Linked DNA regions of Homo sapiens: region 1 is linked to region 2. Evidence: promoter capture Hi-C in 16 types of primary human blood cells and fetal thymus (Javierre and others, 2016). All regions are on one chromosome and are shown on one strand. Each heading gives the region's core, a stretch centred on a gene start or on the middle of the fragment in contact. The rest is flanking DNA. Distances are from core to core; before and after follow the strand shown. Region 1 has its middle 7.9 kb from the start of MFSD6L. Region 2 holds the start of NTN1 (netrin 1).

The links. The method cuts DNA at HindIII sites, captures the fragments that hold promoters and counts their contacts. A CHiCAGO score of 5 or more calls a contact.
Region 1: a fragment that was not itself captured here is called in contact with the fragment with the promoter of NTN1 in region 2 in 5 of 17 cell types (total CD4 T cells, activated CD4 T cells, naive CD4 T cells and 2 more); the score reaches 6.3 in total CD4 T cells.

Annotation. Positions count from the first base shown.
Region 1 is chr17:8,789,447-8,793,482 of GRCh38, reverse strand. No RefSeq gene overlaps it. Among named protein-coding and RNA genes, the nearest start is that of MFSD6L, 7.9 kb to the left of the region's middle. The HindIII fragment of the contact is 2,963 bases long and covers 1,214-4,036 here.
Region 2 is chr17:9,019,217-9,023,661 of GRCh38, reverse strand. NTN1 (netrin 1) reads right to left here and starts at 2,152. Exons shown (of 7, transcript NM_004822.3): 1 at 2,077-2,152; 2 at 271-1,351. The coding sequence starts at 1,288. RefSeq lists silencers at 1,901-2,690, 2,741-2,790 and an enhancer at 2,211-2,754. The HindIII fragment of the contact is 7,248 bases long and covers 1-4,445 here.

The DNA.
Region 1 (4,036 bases), core at 1,446-3,945, 230 kb after region 2:
AGATGCTGCAGAAAAAGTATTACTAGAGTTTAAGAAAGAGAACATTTCTGACTCAATAACTCAAATAAGGTTTTGTGGAGATTATATTTAAGTCTAAGTCTTCAAGGATAGGTAAAGTTTATTTATTTATTTATTTTTACTTTTGTTTTATTTATTTATTTTTTTTCTGAGATGGAGTCTTGCTTTGTCGCCCAGGCTGGAGTGCAGTGGCACAATCTTGGCTCACTGCAAGCTCCGCCTCCCGGGTTCACGCCATTCTCCTGCCTCAGCCTCCTGAACAGCTGGGACTACAGGCGCCCGCCACCATGCCCGGCTAATTTTTTGTATTTTTAGTAGAGACGGGGTTTCACCGTGTTAGCCAGGATGGTCTCGATCTCCTGACCTAGTGATCCGCCCACCTCGGCCTCCCAAAGTGCTGGGATTACAGGCGCGAGCCACTGCGCCCGGCCTAGGGTAGGTAAACTTTTAACAGGTAAAGTGAGGGTGGTAACCTAGGAGAGGGCATTCTATGACTATATAAACAAAGCTGCAGAGGTGGAAAAAGCATGAAGAATACTTGGAGGGTAGCAAGACATACAGTTTGGCTAAAGCGAAGGATTTGTGTAGGATGGTGCTTAAATGCAAGGCTGGAAAGACAGATGGGACCAGGTCATGAAAGGCCTTGATCCTGTAGACTTTGGATAAGCCATGGAGGGCTCTGGTCAGGGTCATAAGAGGCCACACTGAGCTTTTTTTTTTTAAGTAGCTTTATTGAGGTATTAACATATAATAAACTGCACATATTCAAACACCGGTGAAATGCCTCCTGCCCTTTATAATCCCTCCTCCGTAGCGTGCTCCATTTTGGTCCCGGGCAACCACTGATCTACTTTCTGTCACTGTGTGTTAATTTGCATTTTTAAAGACTATAGTATGTCCTCTTTTATTCTGACTTTTTTTACTCAGCATAATTGCAATGACTTCTGACAACAACTACCAGGAGCTAGGCTCAAGGTTAAGGGCTCAAGACTGCTCCCACTTCAGATGCAGTCACAATTTTGGGGGCTTCCCACTCCCCTCTCAGGTTTGGTAATTCACTAGAAAACCCCACAAGACCCACGAAAGAACTACACTTATTATTACAGTTTTATTGTAGCCAAAGTTTTCAAAATCAGAACCAGCCAAAAGAAGAGATGCACAGGGCAAGGACTGGGAGTGTCCCAAACATGAAGCTTCCATGTCTTCTCCTTGTGGAGTCAGGACAAAGGACCCTTCCAGCACACTGATGTGAGACAAGACACTGAGCGTAGCCAAGCAGTCAGACTCACCCGAGCTTTGATATCCATTGTTTTTATTAGGGGCTTCATCACATAGGCATGACTCATTGGATCACTGGCCTATGACTCAATCTTCAGCCCTGCTCCTCTCCCCAGAAGTCAGGCCTATATCAAAAGCTCAAAGCCCCAACCTTCTAAATACATGGTTGGTTTTTCTGGCATGGCCAGCCCCCATCTTGAGTCATTCCATTAGCATAAATTGTGTAAGGTCCCATCATGAGTCACCTCATTAGCATAAACTCAAGTGTGGTTGACAGGCCAACCACCAGTAAAAAAGACACTCTTCGACTTGGAAAATTCCAAGGATTTAGAGCCTATCTCCCAGGAACTGGGGACAAAGGCCAAATTCTTTATTACACAGGATAATTAATTTGAAAATCAGCAATGATCTTAAGTGCATTAATAGTTTCTTCCTTTTCATTGCTGAGTAGTATTCCATTGCATGGATATACCACGATTTATCCATTCATTTATATTGTATTATATTACCATACATTTCAATTCCAAACATGTAATTGCTTTCAGTTTTTGATGATTACAAATAAAACTTTTATGAATATTCATATCTAAGTCTTTGTGTGAACACACGCTTTCATTTCTCTTGGGTAAATACCAAGGAGTGGATTGACCAAATCATATGGTAGACATATGTTTAACTTTTAAAGAACTGCTAATAGTTTCCCAAAGTGGTTGTGCCATTTTACATTCCCACCAGCAGGGCATGAGAGTTCCAGCTTCTCTACACCCTCACCAACACTCAGTAAAATCAATCTCTTTAATTTTAACCGTTCTAACAGGCATGTAGTAGTAGAGTTGTTTCTTGGTATCCTTGGGGAATTGGTTCCAAGACCACCTCCTACAGATACCAAATCCAAGGATGCTCAAGTCCCTTCTATATAATGGCATAGTATTTGCATATAACTTATGCACATCATCTTATATACTTTAAATCATTTCTAGATTATTTAAAATACCTAATATAATGTAAATGCTATGTAAGTAGTTGTTATTCCCTACTTTTGCATCTGTATTATTTTTGTTGTTGTTTGGATTATTTTTGATCCATGGTTGGTTGAATCAGCAGGTACGGAGCCCACAGATACAGAGGACAGACTGTATCTCACTGTGATTTTAATTCTCATGTCCCTAATAACTAGTAATGTTGAGCACCCTTTCTCTGTACCGTGCTTTTGAAAATTAATCAGCAGCATAGAAGTACACAAGAATAACAACAGCCTCAGGTGACTATAAGAGCACATTACCTATCAGAATAGTAAATGCTTCAGAGCAGTGGTCTTTGTTTCTAGAATGCTTTAATGGGAGGAAAAAAAAAACAGAACAAAACAAAAAGACTTGATAACTTTGTGTCTTGGATAGTTTTACATACTCACAAGCCTAAAGATATTGAACCAAGTCAAATGATCTCTAGAGGCCCCTTTGACAATTCTTTTTTTTTACATTTTTTATTAGCAATGCTTTTGGAGAAAGAGCTTTTGAGAATTCAAATGTACGCGTGGGGATATGGCCTTTGTAGGAAAATGCTGAGACCACTGACTGCTTTCAAAGTTTATAAAAATGCGGAAGATGATCTTCAGTGCAAATTCCTTCGTTTAAACAAAGTCTGTCCCTGCCACACTGTTTGCCACATGGGTCTCCAGCATGCGGGATGGGAATAGTAATCTTTCTGACAGGCACATCTCTATAGGAAGTCTTTCCTGACCAACACCCTACTTTTCTATTTCTGCTAACTTTGGTTTACCATTCCCCCTCGACTTGGTTTCAAGGAAGTGGCTTTTCACGTTTTAGGGCATATTGTTTCCTTTAATAAGCTGACGAATGTCACAGGGGCTGTCCTCTGAAATATGCATATCAGATTTTTCATGCTGGTCACATTTCATGGATAAAACAACAACAACAACAAAACAGTCACTGGCCTCAGGTTAATTAAACAGATGAACCTGCTTGAGGCAGATTTTCTGCCAGATATCTTCCCAATGTCCCAAATTAGGAAACCTCCTTTCTAATTTCGTCTTCCCTTTACTCCATGACCTGTGATTTTGCTGTCACGAGCTTCCCGAATTCTCTTCACTTTGCCCCTTCTCCTTGTTGAGCCCTGCAGGCTTCTGTCTTTATGCTGGCGGCACCCTGGGGTGAGGTGTTGCAGAGTCAGAGGCTGTGATAGAGGGAAGTAAGTTCAGAGTGAAGGCCCTGGGCTCAAGCGTTCTTCAGGTCACCCTTCCTTCATAAGTATGTACTGAGCAAGGCTGTGATCCTTCAGGGTGCTGGGTGAGTCTTTAGGAACGCGTCTACCACTCCCTCCTGCATAACGTCACCAGATGCCTCCCACATCTTCCCGGGGTAATTAATGTCACCTCCCAATGGCTTTATGCCATTCTGCACATTTTGTTCACAGGGCCGCAATCATTGTTTGGGGATGCACATGTGAACTACCCCCCCCGTCCGATCGGAGTAACACTCAACGGACTCTCTCCCTTGGATATGAGGCCGATGCTACCCACCCTGCCTATTTGTGCAGATGTGAAACCTTGAACTGCACTTTGTTTCTATGACAAAGCCTGCCTGGGAACAATACTGACAATTTAGAAGGAAAGGCCGAACCACAAAACCATGTCCACAAACAGAATGGGACAGGACAACGTAAATGTCAAGTGAGAAGTTTAAATAGTGAGCATTTCTCTCTGGGCAGACAGGACAGCTGA
Region 2 (4,445 bases), core at 903-3,402:
CTGCAAATGTTCTGCCAAACCCCCTCCCGGGAACATTTCTCCTGCTGCTTCTTGGCTTCGCAGAGAGCACTGGGCGCAAATTCGGGCGTCCACCACGAGCGCCACGCGAGCGAGTGGACCTGCTCTGAGCCCTCCCGGGTCCCGGGCATCGGCGAACGCGCCTCCCGCCGTTCCCTCGACCCGCGCTCCTATGAACTCGCCGCTGCGAGGCCCAGCAGCTCCCGCCCGCGGCCCCACCCGCCGCCGGCTCCGCCGCCGCACCCCACTCACCCACGCACTCGTTGGCTTCGCGGGCTGTGGCGCGCTGCCAGGGCCGGTCGTAGTGGAAGGGCTTGCAGCGGTCGCACTCCGGGCCGGCCGTGTTGTGCCTGCAGTCGCACACCAGGCTGTCGTCGCGGTCGCGCACGCAGCGGGCCGCGTGGCCGTTGCACTTGCACCGGCCGCCCACCTGCAGGTCGGACACCGCGTAGAAGTACGAGTCGCGCGCCAGCTCCGAGTCGTCCTCGTTCTCGTCGCCGAACGTGTGCAGGCGGCTGAAGGCCACGCGGATGTCTGTGGCCGTGACCCAGTCCTGCAGCACGGGCGAGTTGTCGAAGTCGTGCGCCGAGGGCCGCCCGTCCAGCGTGCTGAAGGCGATGAGGCCGCCCGAGAGCGGGCGCATGTCGGTGTGCGAGTCGGTGCACACGGCCTCCTGCTCGTTCTGCTTGGTGATGGGCGCGCGGTGCGGCCGGTTGTACATCTTGCGGCACTGCGTGGAGTAGAACTGGAAGGGCACCCACGTGCGCCCGTAGTCCATGGACTTGTAGATGGCCATGGACTCGGGCCGCGGCGAGCAGAACTGCAGGCTCACGTAGGTCACTTCGAACTTCTTGCCGAGGGACAGTGTGAGCGTGACGTTGTGCGGGAACTGCAGGTAGTTCTCGGACTGCCAGCACGTCAGGTTGTGCGGGTTGTTGAGGTCGGTGAGGAAGGCGGGCGGGTGCGCCTTCTTGGGGTCGGACGCGTTGCAGAGGTGGCACGAGCGCAGCCGCTCCTCGCCGCGCTCGCTCACCACGCAGTAGCGCGCCGGGGGCCGGCCGCAGGTGCTGGACACGCGCACGTCCTTGCCGAAGGCCGCATTGACAAAGTCCGGGATGCAGCGGCGCGGGTGGCCGTTCTCGTCCGAGCAGGGATCGGGCTGCGCCGCCTGGCCCGCGAACATGCTGAGCCCGGGCCCGCCGCGCACCGCGCCCACCAGGCACGCCACCGCCGCCAGCGCCGCCAGCGCCTCCCACACTGCGCGCATCATGCTGCGTCCAGCTTGCCCCGGCCCTGCCGCGCCGAGGATCTGTCCGCCTGCCGCAGAAGGCGCCTGCGGAGAGAAGGGAGCTGCGCTCAGCCAGCCCGCCCCGCGCCCTCCAGCTCTCGGCGGGGTGGCGAGCGGAGATGCGGGAGAACGCCCGGCTTCCTGGGCACCCACCCCGCAGCCGACTGCCCGCCTCTCTCCCCCAAAGTCCCGCGGGCGGCGAAGCCGGGGCCCTCCAAGTCCGCACCGCTCGCGCCCCTTCTTCCCCGCCCGGCGGGAGAACGCTCTGCTTCCCCGCCACCGCCGCCCCCACGCCGCCCGAGGGGCATGCCTGAGCCGGTCTCCCCGTCCGCGACCAGCCCCCCTCGCACCCCAAGTTTCGGGCGCAGGAGAGCTGGGGGACCCCGACTCTGCACGGCCCGCGCCCCTTCGTCTCGCAGCCCGGGGTCCCTCTCAGATGCCCCCCGATCGCGTCCCCGCCGGAAAGTCCGCGTTCGGGACTTTACCTCTGGAGGGGGCAAAAGAGAAAGAAAAGTTTGCCTGGCCCCTCCGGGGAGCCCGCGCGCCGGTCGCCGGAGAGCCTCTCGCTCGCTGCTAGCAGGCGCGTCCCGCCTCAGCGCGGGCTTGCCAGCTCCATGCCCGGCGCGGCCGCCGCTGCCCCAGCCCCAGCCCCGGTCCCGGCCCCGCCGCCGCCTCTCTCGCCCGAGTGACTACGCGGCCGCCCGGCTCCCGCCGCTCCCGCCGAGCTCGGAGTGCTGCCCTGCCCGCGCCCGGGGCGCACACACACTCACGCTGGCCGGCGCGCACTCACACACACGCGCGCTCGCCCCCGAAGGCTCCGCCGCCGCCGCCACTCGCGCTGGGAGTGAGGGGCGGAGGGGAGCGCGGGGGCGGGGGGCGGGGCCGCCGGGCGGGGCGCCGGCCAATAACGTCCGCGAGCTGCCGCCAGCTCCGAGCAAAGTTTTCACCCCGGGAAAGAAGAAAGTTAAAGGGAACCGGCCCGGACGCCCGAGAGGGAGAGCACAGGCGGGTGGGAACCCGGGAGCCCGAGAAAGAACAGCAGAGACAAAGAGAAAGCGAGGAGAGCACCCGGGGAAACCCCGGAGAGGGGGCTGGGCCGGGCCAGGCGCGCACCCCGTGGGGGAGGAGGGGCCGCCGGGGACTGTCAGCCTCGCCCGCGCCCCGCGCCGCCCGGAGAGCCTCACGCCCGGGGGAGCGCGCGGGCGGGGGAAGGGGGCCACTTTCTCCCTCCCGGTCCCAGCCAAACACATCTGTGTTTGTTTTCTTTGCTGCGCGGAGGTCGGGCCTTCCTCTAACCCAGCCTGATGGCCCCCGGTGGCACCGCGCACAGGGCTGTGCCCCTGTGGGCACGCAGCCCGGGAGCGTGAGGAAGAGGAGGAGGATGTGACCTCTGCCTGCTCTCCATTTTTGCCCGAAGCCCCCGGGGTCCGGCGAGGAGGGGCTGCTCGCCCGCACTCCCACGGATATCACCGTGCGTGAGCCTGTCTGTCGGGAACGCGGCTTCGTTCTAGCCAAGGGAGCAGTGGTGGGCAGGAGGCTGAAGGGGTAGGAAGCTGGCAGCACCTGGACGCTGGCCACCGCCCCTCCAAGACGGGCCTGCCTGGTCTCAGGCATGGGGACAGCCCAGCCCTCCCCAGATCCCCTGAGGCAGGCGTATCGGTACTTCCTCAACCGCATTTTTAAGGGTGCAAAGCCCTGTAATAGCTCATGGGACCTCCACAGCAGCTTTGCTGTTGTATTAACTCCATTTTGCAGATGAGGAAACTGAGGGTCCCGGGAGCTGAAGAAACTCGCACAAGATCAACCCCCAAGTAAACATCAAAAACAGGAAGAGAAGCCTGGGCTCCTTCCACTGCAGGGCATTCGTCAAATGCATAACCTTGCCGAATGATGGTGTCATGGGGCATCTGCGGGGCCACCCAGCCCCTCCTTGCCTCATTCTCCATCGCCCCAATAAAAAGACTGAGGACAGTGACAGCATCCTTTGGTCATCTTGCAACAGCAGCCAGAGAGCTCTGGGAAAGGAATACACTGGGCCGAGAGTTTGGAACGGAATCTCTGCTCGTTTATTTGTTACTTGTAGATGTGTGGTCCAGTAATAGACCCGGATGAAAAGCCCCAGGTCCTGGTTCCGGCCCAAGGGCTGCCTTGCTGCATTAGCTCCATTAAGTGCCTCAGTTTGTCTTATTGGCATTTTCATAAACCCTGAGAATCTAAGAAGGGGCCTCGGGGCTCGTCTGGCCCAGCTCCGTCTCCTTGGAAGAAGGCCTTCCCCAGCCTCCCAGAGAGACGGCCACCCAAGCCAGCTCTTCCAGGGATGGGAGCTCACCACAGCTCAAGAAAATAAATCCATTCCATTGCAGGACAGCCTGGATTCATCTTCTTACCCCGGGGTAGCAATTTAGCTGTGCCTTCTTGTGCCGTTTACCACACTCTGCACTGTTTATTTATGCCTTACCTCACCTTGTGGCAGAAAGGATTTCAGGTAACTTACAAGGGTACATAAAATATGACACAATAACAAATTAAAAGTGAGGTCAAAGGAAATAAATGAAATGGTTAACCATGGTGACCTGTGAAATCGCAATGGTATACTGAAAGGCAGCATAGCTCTTAGGAGGAAACGCTTCGGAGCCAGGGTACCTGGGTTCAAATTCTGCCTCTGCTGTGTGACTATGGAAAGTCTATGCCTTGGTTTCCTCCATCTGTACAAGGGAGATAATACTTTCTACCCCACTGGGTTGTGAGCATCACGTGAGTTGACACATTTGAATATTATAGCTGATGGGATATAGACATACATATTGCAGGTCTGTAACACATATAAATAGGCTTTCTCATGTATGCAAATGTAAATATGCATAAAACCAGGCACATAGTACATGCATATAGAAATGTTAGCTGTTAGTATGAGGTCGCTTGATCTATACAGAAATTTTAAATCATTTAGAGAACACTTAATTACAGGGAAAGATGTTCATGACATATTATAATATGAAAAAAGCAAATTAAAAACACACAGTATAATGTCATTTTAATTTTTTAAAAAGTATGCATAAAAAGACAACACAGTTAATAGTGGTTATCTCGGAATAATGAGATTACAGGTGATTTTTATTTATCTTTGCTTGTATGCTCT